6 separate regions of the Homo sapiens genome follow, and all the other regions are linked to region 3. The links are contacts of gene promoters, found by promoter capture Hi-C in blood cells and fetal thymus (Javierre and others, 2016). All regions are on one chromosome and are shown on one strand. Each heading gives the region's core, a stretch centred on a gene start or on the middle of the fragment in contact. The rest is flanking DNA. Distances are from core to core; before and after follow the strand shown.

Evidence for each region. The method cuts DNA at HindIII sites, captures the fragments that hold promoters and counts their contacts. A CHiCAGO score of 5 or more calls a contact.
Region 1: a fragment that was not itself captured here is called in contact with the fragment with the promoter of UXS1 in region 3 in 1 of 17 cell types (activated CD4 T cells); the score reaches 6.6 in activated CD4 T cells.
Region 2: a contact is called between a fragment that was not itself captured here and the fragment with the promoter of UXS1 in region 3, in 7 of 17 cell types (activated CD4 T cells, non-activated CD4 T cells, total CD4 T cells and 4 more). The highest score is 9.9, in activated CD4 T cells.
Region 4: a fragment that was not itself captured here is called in contact with the fragment with the promoter of UXS1 in region 3 in 1 of 17 cell types (fetal thymus); the score reaches 11.3 in fetal thymus.
Region 5: a fragment that was not itself captured here is called in contact with the fragment with the promoter of UXS1 in region 3 in 10 of 17 cell types (neutrophils, total B cells, fetal thymus and 7 more); the score reaches 20.9 in neutrophils.
Region 6: a contact is called between a fragment that was not itself captured here and the fragment with the promoter of UXS1 in region 3, in 9 of 17 cell types (fetal thymus, naive B cells, naive CD4 T cells and 6 more). The highest score is 11.1, in fetal thymus.

Annotation. Positions count from the first base shown.
Region 1 is chr2:105,559,043-105,561,742 of GRCh38, reverse strand. No RefSeq gene overlaps it. Among named protein-coding and RNA genes, the nearest start is that of LINC02946, 50 kb to the left of the region's middle. The HindIII fragment of the contact is 1,355 bases long and covers 736-2,090 here.
Region 2 is chr2:105,579,424-105,582,123 of GRCh38, reverse strand. No RefSeq gene overlaps it. Among named protein-coding and RNA genes, the nearest start is that of LINC02946, 30 kb to the left of the region's middle. The HindIII fragment of the contact is 4,227 bases long and covers 1-2,700 here.
Region 3 is chr2:106,192,995-106,195,694 of GRCh38, reverse strand. UXS1 (UDP-glucuronate decarboxylase 1) reads left to right here and starts at 1,394. Exons shown (of 15, transcript NM_001253875.2): 1 at 1,394-1,547. The coding sequence starts at 1,454. RefSeq lists a silencer at 1,312-1,921 and an enhancer at 2,252-2,301. The HindIII fragment of the contact is 11,333 bases long and covers 506-2,700 here.
Region 4 is chr2:105,399,744-105,402,521 of GRCh38, reverse strand. It overlaps a transcript of FHL2 not described here. Among named protein-coding and RNA genes, the nearest start is that of FHL2, 2.1 kb to the right of the region's middle. The HindIII fragment of the contact is 799 bases long and covers 1,126-1,924 here.
Region 5 is chr2:105,340,157-105,342,856 of GRCh38, reverse strand. C2orf49 (chromosome 2 open reading frame 49) reads right to left here. Exons shown (of 4, transcript NM_024093.3): 3 at 1-9. Among named protein-coding and RNA genes, the nearest start is that of C2orf49, 4.0 kb to the right of the region's middle. The HindIII fragment of the contact is 2,746 bases long and covers 1-2,625 here.
Region 6 is chr2:105,361,245-105,363,944 of GRCh38, reverse strand. It overlaps FHL2 (four and a half LIM domains 2), which reads left to right. Exons shown (of 7, transcript NM_001318895.3): 6 at 474-660; 7 at 2,511-2,700. The coding sequence ends at 2,662. It also overlaps a transcript of C2orf49 not described here. Among named protein-coding and RNA genes, the nearest start is that of C2orf49, 25 kb to the right of the region's middle. The HindIII fragment of the contact is 1,121 bases long and covers 704-1,824 here.

The sequences.
Region 1 (2,700 bases), core at 164-2,663, 630 kb after region 3:
AACCTTGTTCCTGAGTAGCCTTTGGTGGGGGTGGTGCTGGAAGTCAGCTCCCCCAGACTGTGACCTTCCTACTCTCCAGCATCAGGGACCTGCAGTGGAGAGGCGGAGTTTCCACCCAGGGAACAAAGACCAAACCACGCACCGCCCTCCACTGGGGTGGTGCAGGGCCCGACACACACGGGTCTGCCATGGAGGCTGTGCTCAGAGCTCCAGCTCTCCTCGTCTGGTAGAGGTGGGGGGAGCTTGGGAGCTGCCAACAGTGGCCGAGGGAGAGAGATGGGCCCTTGGCAAGGAGGGCGCAAACCTCCTAATGCACAAACATACCGCTTAGGGACTGGGAGAACTGTCACAAATCAACATGGTGTTGTGCAGGCTGCCAAAAGGGCTCATGAGTGAGCTGAAGACCAGATAGGCAAGCCCCTTGGAAATTCCATTGCAGGGTCCTGAGGATGACGCAGGACCCCCTGCAACATTCATGGCAGGAAATGAACATTAAATTAGAGCCAGGCTTGCTTCTTCCCACTAAGAATAGCCAAGGGCACGTGGACAAATGAAGAGCACTTTTCCCTCACGGTTTCAGGGATGGCGCTGCTGGCTGAGGCAGAAGCTCCAAGGAGTCACAATCTCTAGAACAGGCATGCTCTTTCTCTTTTCTATGGGGAGTGGGAGGGATGGGGGATGCTGACTTGTTTAGTTGTCTAAAGAGCCACACAGCTGGAATTTTCCCCACAAGCTTGAACTATAGACATCAGAAGATGTCTATTGAATATCTTTGATTGGCAGGAGTCAAAATGTATGCCGCCGAGACGACACCCACACACCCGTGTTCACAACAGCCCAAGAGTGGAAGCAACTGAAGTGTGCATGGATGGATGGGTGCACGGGCAAAACGTGGCTTATGTTATACAGTGGAATACTACTCAGCCTTAAAGAGGAAGGAGAGTCTACACATGCTGTGATGTGGATAGACCCTGAGGTCATTCTATCCAGTGAAATAAGCCAGTCACGGAAGGACAAACACTGCATGATTGTACCCACATGAGGTACTGGAGTGGTCAAGTTCACAGAGATAGACAGTAGAAAGGGGGTTGTTGGTCTGGCAGGAGAGAGAAGTGGGGAGTTGTTGAATGGGTAGAGTTTCTGTTTGAGAGGTTGAAGAGTGCGGGAGCTGGATGGTGGTGATGGCTGCACAACTGTGTGAATGTGCTTAATGCCACTAAATTGTACACCTAAAAATGGTTAAAATGGCCAATTTTATGTCATGTGCGTTTACCACAGTTAGAAGTAAATAAATGAATAAATTTAAGAAGTCAAATGCTACTCAACTACCTCCTAAGAGCCCGCGGCCCGGGGGTTTTGACAGAACTTTATTAGACACATTGGGAAGTTTCCATCCAAACAGTAGCAGTGAGGGGCTGATGCGTGGGCTTCCTAACCCACATTCGCAGGCCATGCAAAGCAGCACTGGCTCCGCTCCTCATTCGTGGGGTTTGGGCCGCCCAGCAATCCCCACTGGCAGAACCAGCAAGGGGCAGAGAGGGAGAAATGTTCCCCCTACTACACCCAAGCCCAAAGCCGAGCACCTCCAACCTGTCGCCTGGCTGTGCTGGCAGCACGGGCTGACCCCATGGCAGAATCAGCACTTGGATGCCTGATGTGGTGCTTCTCCTTTCAGCCTGGCTCAGGTCTGAACGTGAGGGTCTCAGGGGTCCTGTGACAGTGGCCACTGGAAAGAAGCACCCAATTTGAGAGCTTAAGAGTTAAGATCCCACCAATTTCTGAAGAAACCTGAAGTCTGGTCCTGAGTCAGGATGGTGACGAATGCAGACAGCATCCTCCCCAGAGAGGGGTGGAGGGTGGGAGTGGAGGTGGGGGATGCACAAACCTCAGCACACCAATGTGAACCCTGCAGTGAGCCTGATAGGCAGTACCCGTGGGGTTCAGGTGCTGCACTCCTTCTCCCCGACAGTGAGGGAAGAGAGGGGAGGGCACCAGAGGGCCCTGTCTTAGGGCCAGTGACTCTTAGACCTCAGGAGTAGGAAGGCCCTTAATCTGAACCTAAGGGACCTGCTGCTCCAGGCAGAGAAGCTTTGCCAAGGAAGGTGTGTATGGAGGGGGTTGCTGCTCCATTTCTGAATCAGAAAAGCAACTGAGAACTCCCTCCAAGGGAACCAGAAAACCCAACTCATCTCTCAGCTGCCCACACACTCGCCAGTGTGGGGAGCCCACCACACCCCAGGTGTGTGTGGTGCAGCCTGTCCCGTCTTTCCCCGTAAAGTACTTGCTGTGTAAGAGCTCAAAGTCCTCCCCTGGAGGCAGAGAGGCAAGAAAGGTCCAACCTCCATTCAAAAGGGCTCACAGAATGCCCAGCAGAATAGAAGGGGAAAAAAATTACAGTGATCTGGACAAAGAGAAAACTCAAAAGGAAGAGAGAAAATTGCTAAACATTTCCTGCATGGACAAGCAGGTTCCCTACTAGGATTAAAACCCATGCTGTTTCCTGAAAGCTTGAGAGAGGCTCATAAACACCAATACAGTCATTGATAGAAAGTGACCATCACATTACTCTGTAGTTTAAGGGGGAAGGAAGAGTAAGCCGATTTCTCCATTGATCCTTGCCCAAGACCCAAACACCAGGGGCACACATGAAGTCTGATTAGGTCAGGGTTATTGGCTTGGAGCAGTGAGGAACAGCATACA
Region 2 (2,700 bases), core at 16-2,515, 610 kb after region 3:
CCAGCTTCTAGGGGCCACCACATTGCTGGGCTCATGGTCCCTTCCTCGATCTTCAAAGCCAGTAATGTAAGGCCAAGTCCTTCTCACATTGCGTTGCTCTGACCTTCTTTGCCTCCTTCTTCCACTTTTAAGGACCCTTATGATTACACTGTTCCTCAACCCCAACAATTCAGGATCATCTCCTTATTAAGGTCAGTTGATGAGCAGCCTTAATTCCTCTTTGTCAGGTGCTATGGGTCCAGTTGCATCTCCCCCCCACCCCCGGCCAAAAGAAAAGAAGTCCTAACCCCCCACCTAGTGCCACAGAATGGGACCTTATTTGGAAATAGGGCCACTGAGATGTAATTAGTCAGGATGAGATCATACTAGAGTAGGGTGAGCCCCTTAACCAGTATGACTGGTGTCTTTTCTCTATCGTTTTTTAGAGATAGGTTCTAACTCTGTTGCCCAGAGTGTTGCCTGGAGTGCAATGGCATGATGATAGCTCACTACAGCTGCGGACTCCTGGGCTCAAGGGATCCTCCCACCTCAGCCTCCCAAGTAGCTGGGACTGCAGGAGCATGCCATCACACCCAGCTAATTTTTTCATTTTTTTTGTAGAGACATGGTCTCACTATGTCTCCCAGGCTGGTCTCAAAACTCCTGACCTCAAGATCCTCCTGCCTCAGTCTCTCAAGCTGCTGGAATTACAAGTATGAGCCATCATGCCTGGCCAACTGGTGTCCTTATAAGTACACAGCCATGTGAAGACCCAGACACACAGGGAGAATGCCATATGGAGACACTAGCAAAGACTGGCATGATGCATTGATGAGCCAAGAAACTCCTGGAATGATCAGCATGAAAGGAGGCAAGAAAGATCCCCACTTAGAAACTTCAGAGGGAGCTTGATCCTACTATACTTTGATTTTAGACTTTCAGCTTTCAGAACTGTGAGACAATAAATTTCTCTTGTTTTAAGCCAACAAGCTGGTGGTACTTTGTTACAGCAGCCAAGGGAAACTAATAAACCTGTAAGGTAGCATATTCACAGGTTTCAAGGTGGACATCTTGTGGGGAGGAAGAGGTATTATTCTGCCTACCATGATAGCCTTAAGGGGATTTTGCATTTTAGTAATTTCCAATGAGAAGAAGTAGAAGGATGTTTGGAGATAATTCTCCATGGGTCTCAGGTTTTTGCACGTCTTGAGAGTGGAAGTGTTTGATGCCTTTGTTCCAGACTATATTTTAAGAATGTTTGTACATCAATAGCCTTGATATATGGGGATAATATCTATCCCTGGAACAAAAAGATTTTTTTAAAATTTTTTGTTTTGTTTTGATTTGGTTTGGTGGTTGTTGTTGTTATTTTTACTGTCAGTGTAATAAGGAAATGTCTCTCTCCAAGGTTACAGTCAGGCAGGCATACTGTCTGTTAGAAAAGACTTAGGTTCCCTAAGCACGAGGCTCCTCTTCTACAGCACAACCCACAACGGTGCAGGTGCCACCATCACCCTGAGGGATGACTTTGGAAACTGGTGCAAGTGCTGACACCCTAGCTGCTGTTGTGGCTGTGAGTTGCAAACTGTCCTCTGCCTCTATCCCAGGCGTCTTGTGTCTTCTGCCAGCATTCTCGAAACTGTGCCAGTTAACAGGTTAACTTGCAAGGAGTGTCAATCTCAGGCCCTTCCCAGTTCTTGACAAAGAGAAATTCAGGTATAAAATACAGAAAGTGAGCGAGAAATTGCAGTGAGTCGTCACTGAACAATTCATCATGCAGGTTAAACAAACCAGGACTTCTGCTTACCTACTTTCTGCCTTATTTGCTAACCCCAGTAGTTCTCCAAGTGAGGGGGTCCCTGGACCTGGGTCCTCAGCGGCACATGGGAAGCTGTCAGAAGTGCACACCTGGGGGCCACACCTCAAGTTTATTGAATTGAAAACTTGGGGTGGGGTGCAGGCCTCTGTATTCTAACAGGCCCTCCAGGGTGCTGAGCATGCAGCTCGAGAACCACTGGCCTGCCTGGAGGTCCAATCCCAGCACCTGTAGGTTCCTGGGTGTGTGGGTGCCCATGGACAGTTGTCATGGGGACCCTGAAGCCCAGGACATGAGAGGCCAGAGGAGAGTCCTTGCCCATCCACTCTCTGTGGCTGCTCTATCTCCACTTCAGTGGTGCAGGGTGGGGTTTTCTGTGTTTTCCATACCTTCTCCCTCTCCGCCATCATTCCTAAGGAGAGCTGGCCTTTTACTAAACTACCATGCTGAAGTCACGTGGTGCCAGTGGGTCAACCTCAGCATGCTGGTCTTACGAGTGCCCCATCTTCAAGGAGGCAAAGTGGACAGGCCAGCTCAGCGGAGTCCCAGGGAAGCAGGGGTCAGAGAAAGAAGGGAAGGAGACTGAGGGAGGAGGAGAGGCCTGTGGGCACAGACTTTTTCCCAAAGTAAAAAATAAGCTGACGGAAGCCCTGCAGACAGGCTCCTCCGCATCTTTGCAAGTTGAGGGGCTGCTGCTTGGCAGTCCTTTCTGGGGGGAGCAGCAACATTCCATGAGGACAAAAGGAAACTGTGCGTACACTCTTACGAAAGAGTGGAAGGTTCCAAGTTTGAATAAAGTCACCACTGGCAGAAATGTAAGAACTGAGTCTTCAGGAACTTCTTCAAGGCTGCCAGAGGACTGGGAGAGGCTCAACAGATTCAACAAGGCATGGGAAAAAATGACC
Region 3 (2,700 bases), core at 145-2,644:
TCACTTGGCAGCCTCCTTGGACACGTCAGAGTCAGGGAGCTGGGCTTCTCGAAAGAAGTCCACTCCATCTATGGGCAGCATGCATAGCAGGGGCAATCCGCCTTAGCAAACCGCTCAGTGTTTCCTCCTAGTCAGGGATTCTCAACAGGTTTAGGGGAGGGGTAGGATGGAGGTAGGTTTTATCAGAATCACATCATTTGCACTATAGTTTGAAAGATGTAACATAAAGCTGCTGCTTTAGTACCAGCTGCCATATTTCCTTTTCTTGGAGGTTTCTAATAAATCTAAAGGAGGGTGATCTATTAAGTTTTGCAAAATGGCCTGAGGTTCCAAGAGGTAGGAGAGCCGCTGCTGACTTCAACTTCTCCGTATAGCTGAAGATGACCTCTTGAAGCCTGCAGATCCCAAATCCGGGATCTCTCTTAATGTGGCATCACACACATCTGTGTGTACCTGTCTTTTTTTCCTCCATGGGACCAGCTCTCTCCAGATCCAATGACAAGCTTCCGATTATCTGTGGATCTTCTGATACATCTCCTTGCTTGTAATCATCATTCAGTAAATGCTTTTTAAACACAGGTACCTCCTATGCAATCAGTACAGCACTCATAAAACAGATATACTCAACAAAAAGATTGAATGAAACACACACGACAACATGGTCAGGGTTTTTCTCTAGGCAGAGACAGCGCAATTTCATCTTTTCTTTTCCAAGTCTATCCTAAATTAATATACTTAGCACTGCTTTTTAAAATAATAATAAAAGACTATTATTAAAACAAAGGCACCCCAGTTGATCATAGCCAAGGAAAAAAAACGCAGCCAGTTTTTACTTCGGCAAGGTTTAGGGGATTTATCATTTTCGCTGCCGATATTCTAACTAAAAAAAGCCAACTAAACAGCCCAGAGAACGAGGCAACTTTCTGAGGCAGGCATTCAACTTCTAAGGCTCGGCCAAGTTTAGCAAATAAGTTTCGTTTCACTGCAACACCGGAATGCCCACCGCGTGCCCCCCTCCGGGCGGGGCTCGGAAACTGGCCACTGCAGTCGTGCCCTTGGGTTGGGGACGCACCTCAGCGAAACGAATCCAGCCGCACCTCCCGGCTGGCACCCGCGCGCTTTAACTCAGGGAAAACAGACCGGAACGCGCATGCGCCGCGGCGCGCCGCACCGCCCACCAGCCCTCCAGGTCACATTCTTCGAAAACCAAGGCAAGAAAGGCGGCAACTGCGCCTGCGGGTAGAGAAGCCGGAGGGGCGGGGGCGGAGCCGGAGGAAGGGGGTGGAGGCGCGCCTGCGCGGTGATCCCGCCAGCAGGAAGCAGGCGCGCGGGGGCGGGGGCGCGCGGCGGCAGGAGGCGGGGCTCTCGGGGCCGCTGCCGCCGCCGCCGCCGCGCATTGTGCAGCAGGCGGGCCCCCGCGCGGTAGGGCCCTGGACCCGCGCGGCTCCCGGGGATGGTGAGCAAGGCGCTGCTGCGCCTCGTGTCTGCCGTCAACCGCAGGAGGATGAAGCTGCTGCTGGGCATCGCCTTGCTGGCCTACGTCGCCTGTGAGTGCGCGCCCGCTGCCAGCTGGGGAGCCCCATTCATTCCCCGGCGCCGCGGTGGGCCGGGCGGCGGTGGTTCGGGGCCCCGAGGCGGCCCTGCAGCCCCGCGTTGCTCCCCGCCCCGGGCGGGGCCGGCGCTTTCTGCTCCCACCCCTTTCCACTCTTGCAGCAAAGCGGGCCAACTTGGGCGCACACCCCCTACCGCTTAGGCCCGGGCGCGGACCCCGGGCGGAGGGGCCCCTAGCAGTCCTCGGGCGGCCCCAGGTCTCTGCCTCCTGCCCGGGCGCGGGGGACTCGGCGGCGGCGCTGTCGTCCATGTCGCGCTGGGAGCCGGCGAGGGTCCCGGTCGGGGACTCCGGAGCGTGCCGCGTGGGGATACCCTTGGGGACAGCCGAGGTCGCGCCGCGGTGTCGGTTAAGTCGGATAAAAATACTGTGGCCATTGGCAGAGCCCCCGCTCCGACTGTTTGCTCCTCAGGAAAATTACTCAGCGTTTAACTCTTGGGGAGCCAAGTGTGGGCGGCTCCCCGGCCCGCGGCCGTGCCCAGGTGTCGGGGCGCACCGGCATCCCCATTCTAGGTTTTCCCCCGGGGCTCGGCGGCCGGGCGAAGCAGGCAGGCAGCTGGGTGGCCGGGCAGGGCGTGCCTGCAGCTTCTCTGTGCGCGGGTCCAGTTTCTGTCATCGCTCACAGCATGCTGCCTGGAGACAGGGCAGGAGGGGCACTTCGCAGGCAGGTGGTCGGCCCTCTGCTTGTTAGGGAAGTCAGAAACCGTCCTTTTAAAGATCTATTCGTTGGGAATGTTTTAATTGATGCTATTAATACGTTACCAAGTAGCAAAATTGGACTAGAAATAGCTCCCAGTGTGAGCTGCGTTTGAATGCTAGCCACCCAGACACACACTGAAATGAAATCACCTGCTAACCTGTTGGCGTTACCAAGATCTGATTCCAGAGGTGAGTGGGTACTTCACTTGTCTGAAGTGACTTCAGTTGAGCTCTAGGAAGGCAAGTATGAGTAGATCCAGCCTGTGTGCTACAGCCCAGCTGTTCAGGAGGTGGAGCTGGAAAACCCCAGCAGGACTCCGGGTTGCTAGGGGAGGTTTCAGGCGTCGGATGGGTGTTAGATGTGTGTAGTTTTGCAAGGGAGGAAGAACTAG
Region 4 (2,778 bases), core at 276-2,775, 790 kb after region 3:
TGTAATTTCAGCACTTTGGGAGGCCAAGTGGGTGGATCACAAGATCAGGAGATCAAGACCATCCTGGCTAACATGATGAAACCTCGTGTCTACTAAAATTATAAAAAATTAGCCGGGTATGGTGGCACATGCCTGTAGTCCCAGCTACTCAGGAGGCTGAGGCAGGAGAATCGCTTGCACCTGGGAGGCAGAGGTTTCAGTGAGCCAAGACAGTGCCACTGTACTCCAGCATGGGCAACAGAGCAAGACTCCATCTCAAATACATATATATATACACACACACACATATATATATACACACATATATATACATATATACACATATATATACATATATACATACAGATACATATATACATATACATACATGTGTATATGTGTGTATATGTGTATATGTATATATGTATATATACGTGTATATATACACGTATATATACACATATATACATGTATATGTACATACATACGTATATATACGTATATATATATTCGTGTATATATACGTATATATGTATATATTCGTGTATATATATATTTAGTTTTTGAATGAGTACATTAACATAGCTCAAAATTTACAAGAAATAAAAATGTGTACAGTAAAAATTAATCTCCTTTCCACCCCATGACCCCTAGCCACTCAGATCTCCCCAGAAGCAACCGCTTATAAATATACATTGTCTTCCCCCGTCCTTTCTTTGCTCATGAACACAAATGGTTGGTTTCTACCTACAAAGTGTTCTCTACTTTTATTTTTCTCAGTTGATTTATCTTGGAGATCATGCCAAATCAGTAAATATAGTTACCTCGTTCATTTTAACAGCCGCATATGTAAATAATTCTAAAATGCACCATACTGTATTTAACTAAGCCCTTGTTGACGAACACATAACATGGCCCAGTATTTTTCTATTACAAACAATTCTACAATGACTACTCTTGTGTGTCTATCGTTTTACACAGGAGCAAGTATATCTACAAGATAATTTCCTATAAAGGGAAATGCTGGGTAAAGAGAAAATGGTATGTTCATCTGTAATTTAAAAATGTTTTCATTATGGAATTTTTCAAGCATTACAAAAGGAGACAGACTAGTAAGATGAACTGCTGCATATCCATCATCAAGCTTCAGCGATTATCCACAATCCATGGCTGATAGTATTTCGTATATATATAGGCCCTATCCATTTCCCCACCCCAAATTATTTTGAAACAACTCCAGGCATAATGTTATTTCACTAGGAAATATTTTGGCACTGTTCTTGAAAAGCAAGGACTTAAGAAAAGAAAAATATATGTGTGTGTGTAATCACATTATCACCCCTAACATAAATTGTTCATTAATACTAGAAAATATCCTGTCAGTGTCATATTTTCCAAGGTTGTCTCATAAAAATTGATTTTCTACTAGTTTATTCTTTGATTAGAATCCAATAAGATCCAAAAAAAAAAAAAAAAAAGAATCCAATAAGATCCATACATGGCAGTTGGCTAAGTCTTTTTTTAATCTCTTGGTTCTGTCTCCATCTCTCTTGTTTTTCTTTGTGCATCGTTGTTGTAGAAACTGGGTATGTTTGTTTCCAGAGTCCGGATTTTACTGACCCTATCGAATGACCACAGGGTCATTTAAAATGTTCTGCTACCCATTAGGTCAAAAATTAAACACAAAATTAAATTGCAGAATTTCTTAATAATAAAACACAACATAGCTGAACCTATGTGACACAGCTAAAGCAGTTATTAGAAGAAAAATAACAGAACTAAATAACTCTATCAGTAAAAAAGCAAAGCTAAATGGATTACACCCGTAAGTCAGAAAGCTAAAAAAAAAAAAAAAATTAAAATATAAGACAAAAGGAATCAGAAAGAAGATAAATGCAGAATTAATGTTTCATCATTTTAGGGCTTGTTTTTACAAACTGAAGCTTAAGACTCACCATTTGAGAACTAGGAGACCATTTCCTAATTTGTAACGATATCAACAACACATCTAGGTAGCTGTCAGGGGCTGGGAGCCTTTTCTACACAAACTTTGCTCTGAATTTCAAAATACTAGCCTGTCTTGACACTTAGTGGAAATTCAGGTAGGGTGGCCTTAACTCAGGTTCTTCAGGAAAGCGTCCTGTTTCAGGGACACAGTGGGGTGGGGTCGGGGGAGGGCTGTATTCCGCACATCTAGTTCTGGCTGGGCTTATGGCAAGTCTCAGTCCTCTGGAGTCACCTGAGTGACTGAGGGATGAGAGGCATTTCTGATCCCGTAATATACTTACATGGCTTTGCCATCTACCACATCCCAGTTCAAATCTCAGCTGGCACAGTTACCGTTCACGTGGCCTGGAGCAAATCTGAGCTGAACTTTCCTCACCGTAAATCTGGTAAAAATCTTTACCTTAAAGGAGTGTGGATCAAATGAGATACCAGGTAGAGCTAGTGCTCACCGAGTGGAAGCTAAGGTGATGAAGCCCCTTTATTCTCAAGTTCTGTGATTCCATGATGGAGACCCATGAGGCCTACCAGACGGAGAGTATCAATTAAAAGAAAGCAATCACGGAGTTCTTCCCGCCTTCTCTGGAGGATGTATTCCTATGAGCTGCCCCGAATGTTAAAAATAATACACCTGCCCCCAAAGTGCCGAGGACGCCTTTGTGGTCCACCTACTCATCGTCCACCGGTTTCTGCAAGTGGACCGGTTACCTGCTCAGGAGCAAATGTTTCCATCACGACGCACCCTCTCCCAGGGATGGGCTCAACCTGTGCTCTCCCTGCGACAATGCTGAACAG
Region 5 (2,700 bases), core at 3-2,502, 850 kb after region 3:
GTGCTACTCCTGAAATCAAAGAGATGCACTCTTGAAAAATACCATCTGGAACGGCAAACCAGTTCACTGGGATTCAAGTTAAAATAAGCAGTAAACAAAAAGATTTTCTGATAAGACTAATCTGAGACTATTAAAAATGAAATTTTCTATGTTCATTCTAAATGAAAGAATTTCCTAGTGTTTTATTTCAAAGTTTAAAATATTTATGTACAAGAAATTCAAAGTTAGCTTTCATGTATACACAACATGCAGCTATTTTTAAAACATCAATTAACCATCTAGCCCTGGAACTTAAAATGAGATTTCCTAGTTAAAAAACAAACACCAGCTTATTGATAGGGTTATCTTAACCATGTAATCAGTTATTATTTTAAAAGGATGATAAACTATAAAACTATACCAAGACTACCACAGCAGCAATCTACAAATGGGGCACAGCATTCTACTCCATTCAGCAAAGGTCTCTAAAGCCAAGACATTTTCTAAACTAATCGTAACTGGACATTTGTACAAGTTCAATTGTAAAATCTGGCAAGTGTCTCATACTTACCTTCTGGAAATCTAATTTCCACTCTTAATAGTAAAGGTTAATAAGGAAAGCATTCATTTGTTTATTACTTATTATACCTCAGATAATATCTATATCACCTATCTCACAGATGAATTGAAAAAAAATTTATTTTTGAGACGGAGTTGCGCTCTTGTTGCCCAGGGTGGCGTGCGATGGCGCGATCTCGGCTCACTGCAACCTCTGCCTCCCAGGTTCAAGTGACTCTCCTGCCTCAGCCTCCCGAATAGCTGGGATACAGGTGCATGCCACAGTGCCCAGCTAATTTTTGTATTTTTAGTAGAGACGGGGTTTCACCATGTTGGCCAGGCTGGTCTTGAACTCCTGACCTCAGGGTAATCCGCCCGCCTCCCAACATGCTGGGATTACAGGCGTGAGCCACTGCTCTTGGCCCAAAAAAAAACCCTTTTAATTAAACATGTTAAAAGAATCTGAGATAGCCAGTTATCAGGAAGAACATTTTAGCCCTGCCACTCAAAGTGTGATCCAGGGACCAGCAGCACCAGCACAGCAACGTCAGTCAGTATCTTAGGAGCTTGTAAGAAATGGAGAATCTGGGGCATCAACCTGAATACATCAGAACTCACCTTTTAACCAGATTTCTAGCAGTTGGCCAAACTCAACAATTCTTGGGTCATCACTGAACATCATTTGGTAGAAAATGAGAAGTAAGCTCACTGTATACCCACTGCCTTTGTAGAAGGGAAACAGGGACTGAGAGCAGGGTTTGACAGCTTGCTTAATCTAAGATTCAAGAAGCACATTAAAGTTTGAGAAGCACAGGGCTATGTTGCTATGGACCTGGTCCTAGCTCTGTGTGACCTTGGGCATGTTACAGCACTTCTCAGGATCTCAGTTCCTCCACAGATAAAATAATAAGTAGTTCAACAATACAAGATGATCTCTTGGATCCTTCCAGTTTTAATGCTCTGATTCAATTGTGTATTTAAAAAATAGAGTCAAAGATCCTTTCCAAAATGATTTTGGGGGACTAATCAAGACAGTTGTACAAAGATTGCTTCAAAGGAAAGTATGACTGGCACATAAAGTTTTGCTTACTAGAACAATATGCCTGAATGTGCTGATCAAGAGGAAAATACTGGCTGAATAACAGCAAAAGTAAATTAAAAGCCATATGCAGTGTAACCCATATTTATGAAAGTTAACACCACTACATAGTCTGTACTAGTAAGTAAAGTAACCATCAAGCTAAAATGGTCAATCTAAAATGCATTCTTGATCAAAGGTCAGACTGTGTGTGTATTTTCCAAAAGACAATGAGCAGACATGTATTCTTCGACTATTCTTCATAATTGGAGAATAATCTCAATCATTAAATTTTTCTTTGTAAAACAGAGATTAAAACTCAGAGGAACATACTCCCCTTTACCCCTACCCTCCTACTCTGTCTTCTCTCACTGCTTCTAGTGGATTGCCTATGACGGTGCCTTACAAATAGAAGGCCCTAAAAAAAAATTAATTGATCAATAGTATCCACTTGAGATATAATAGACACAGAAGAGTTCACTTAAGGATCTTAGGACACTTTGTACTTATTAACCAATCAACAACACTGATTAATCAAATGTAATTTTCTTTAAAAAAGAAAAAATCACTTGCTTGTGGTTTTATAAAACTGTTTTTGAAATTAAATAATTTTAAATAGCATAACTTAAGCTAGTTAACAGGCCCTTCATTTGTGTATTATTCAAAGACCTTAGAGTTTTACCTGACTTGACTTTTTCCTCAAAATTCAGGAAATCCTATTGGCTCTATCTTCAAAATACATGCATGCTCCAACCCACCAAATTTACTATTGTAGTCAAAGCTGCTGCCATCTATTGCCTGGATTACAGTACAGGCTTCTAATTTGTTTCCCTGCTTCCAGTCTTATACACACCGCTTCCCCTCCCCACACACCTTAAATCACTTCTTAGGACAGCAGCCAGAGTCATCTTGTCAAAATGTACATCTAATGATGTCACCACTCTGCTTAAAACCTTCTAGTGGCTTCTCATCTGAGTACAGCCAAAGTCCTTACAATGACTTACAAAGCTTTACATGATCTGACAATCTCTCCCGTTTGCCCCCAGTACAACTCGTTCTTCCTACTTCTCCATCCAGCCCTGATA
Region 6 (2,700 bases), core at 15-2,514, 830 kb after region 3:
GCCCAATTAACCTCATCACCCTCACTTCCTGGATGAGAAAACTGAAGTGCAGAGATCTTTATCATGACCTGCTCCCAGCCACAGGGCTGGTAAGGAGTAGGGTTAGGATTCAAACCCAGGTCTCCTTGATGCTGTATTGAATCCCGACCCCTCCACTGTGCTGCTTCCCTGCTCAGAAAGGTGGCAACACCACTGAGGCACCCTATGCCTTAGATCCCCAGCATCCCTGGGAAGGGCTGAGGGCAACCCCAAGCTCCAGTTTCACTAACGGGAAAGCCAGGGCCTATGACACTGGAATGAAAGCGTGTGGTGAGGGTGACGAGTGACTGTGAAGTTTGTAAAGCAGCTTCTTGGTGACTTAACAAACTGGACGTTTCTGGATGAGGATCTTGCATCGTCCAGTGGCAGTAGCTGAGACTGAAGATGTCTGCCAAGCACAGAGGCCACACTAACTCTCCCCCTCGTCCCTGCAGCCCATCACCACGGGAGGGGTCACTTACCGGGAGCAGCCCTGGCACAAGGAGTGCTTCGTGTGCACCGCCTGCAGGAAGCAGCTGTCTGGGCAGCGCTTCACAGCTCGCGATGACTTTGCCTACTGCCTGAACTGCTTCTGTGACTTGTATGCCAAGAAGTGTGCTGGGTGCACCAACCCCATCAGCGGTGAGTGTCCCGGGGTTCCCATTTCCAGGGGCGATTGGAAGCTTGAACAAGGCCTAGCATTTTAGCCTGTGACCCTGTCTATATCCCTCAACTCCCCAGACCTCCCTAAGGCTCTGAACACAGCAGACTTTTCTGCCTATCTGCTTTCCTCTCCTTGGTGCACTGGCTATGCTTCAGCAAGTAATGATTCCTTCCTCTGCAGCCCACCTGATCACAACCATATGGCCAGTGCTCCAGTTTAGTTTCTGCTTTGGGTTGGATTATCGCTAAAACTGCAGTCTGTGAGCCTGTGACATCACAAAAGCACAATAAAAACTGGCCTTTTCAGGCTTAGCAGCTGTGCTGTGTTCTTAGAAGTGTCCCCTAGCATCTTAGTGGGACGGTTGTACTCCAAAACATCTTAATGGGAAACTTCTACCACAAGGCCATAGCTATATGAGGGCAGAGGGTACATTCTAAGGAGTTTTTCATATTGTATTCCCCCAAAGAATTCAGCTAAGTGAGAGCCCAAAATCTGGCTGGCTGGCAGACCAGGCTTCTGGACTAGACTATTAAGCAGGCTGGAGAAATTCAGTGTGGAGAACAGAGGAGTTCACACTAAAGTCCTTTAAATGGTCACCACATATCGCTACACAAATGAGTGACTGGGTGGGGAGAGAAAAGTGTGTGTTCTGTAATAACACAGGAGAAGTTTTATGATGTGGGATTTGCAATCCCGTTGCATTCAGTTGACTGGTTCGTTCCTATCAGAGGAAGGTGGCAGACACTTGGAGTACCCGGTGGCCTGGCTTTCCTGTGTGGCTTTTCAGTGTAACTACAGAAACACATCTATACACCCCCTGTGTACTTGTCCTTGACTTTCCTTTCCCTTAGGCCTAGAACCAAGTTCACCTAACTCAGCTAACTCACCTTCCCAGGTCGCTAAAACAGTACTCTCATGTGTAATGCAGAGCTCATTACATTTCCATGTGAAATTAAAATATGAAGAAAAGCACAGTATTTACACTTTACCTATGTTAAAATATCTGTTTCTGGTCATTTATATACCAGATTTCCCTTGGAATCTTTTAGGGGGAAAATGTAATCTTTTGCCAGAACATATTCATCTTTAATGCTGTTTTCAGCAGTAACTTCTGTTGAGGTAAATGTTTATAACATTAAGCTTTATAAAGTGATACAATCTATATAAAAGCACTTTTAAATGTAAAACATTAGATATGAATGTGAATTGTGGTTATTGTGGCACTGAGAAAAAACACTAGGTAAAAACCAACTGTATTATAATCACGGACCAATGTACCTTAAATATTTGATTCCATTCTATCTGTCTGCAGCTTTCTCAGGATCTTCCCACTGCGACAATATCCCTCTCCCCTCATTCCCACCCACATCGCACTTTATCTGTGAGGCCTTTCCTGGCCATCCCAGGGAGGATTAACCTTTTCCTCTTCTACACTCCCTTCACTGCTTCAATCATTAAGTCATAAAAATTTGAGCACCAGGCAACGTGAGGCACCTAGTGAAGACATAAGAGAAATCTGCTCCCTCTTCTCATGGAGTTTCATTTTGTGGGAAAACACATAACAAATACACAGTCAGCATTCTTTGATCGCACTTATCCCATCGTTTTGGAACCAGTTTATATATCTCTTCTGATATTCACGAGATCCTCCAGGCTGTGCATAGAATCTGATTTACATATGGATTCCCAACACCCAGTCACTAGAAATTCACATTATCCATATTACACAATCCAAACTTTGAAATGGATCAAACCAGAATTCCTTCTTCAGTCCCAGTTGCCTGATTCTAACTTTCTTCATCCGGTATTATTTTCTCTCTGTTAACAGGACTTGGTGGCACAAAATACATCTCCTTTGAGGAACGGCAGTGGCATAACGACTGCTTTAACTGTAAGAAGTGCTCCCTCTCACTGGTGGGGCGTGGCTTCCTCACAGAGAGGGACGACATCCTGTGCCCCGACTGTGGGAAAGACATCTGAATTCAACACAGAGAAGTTGCTGCTTGTGATCTCACACA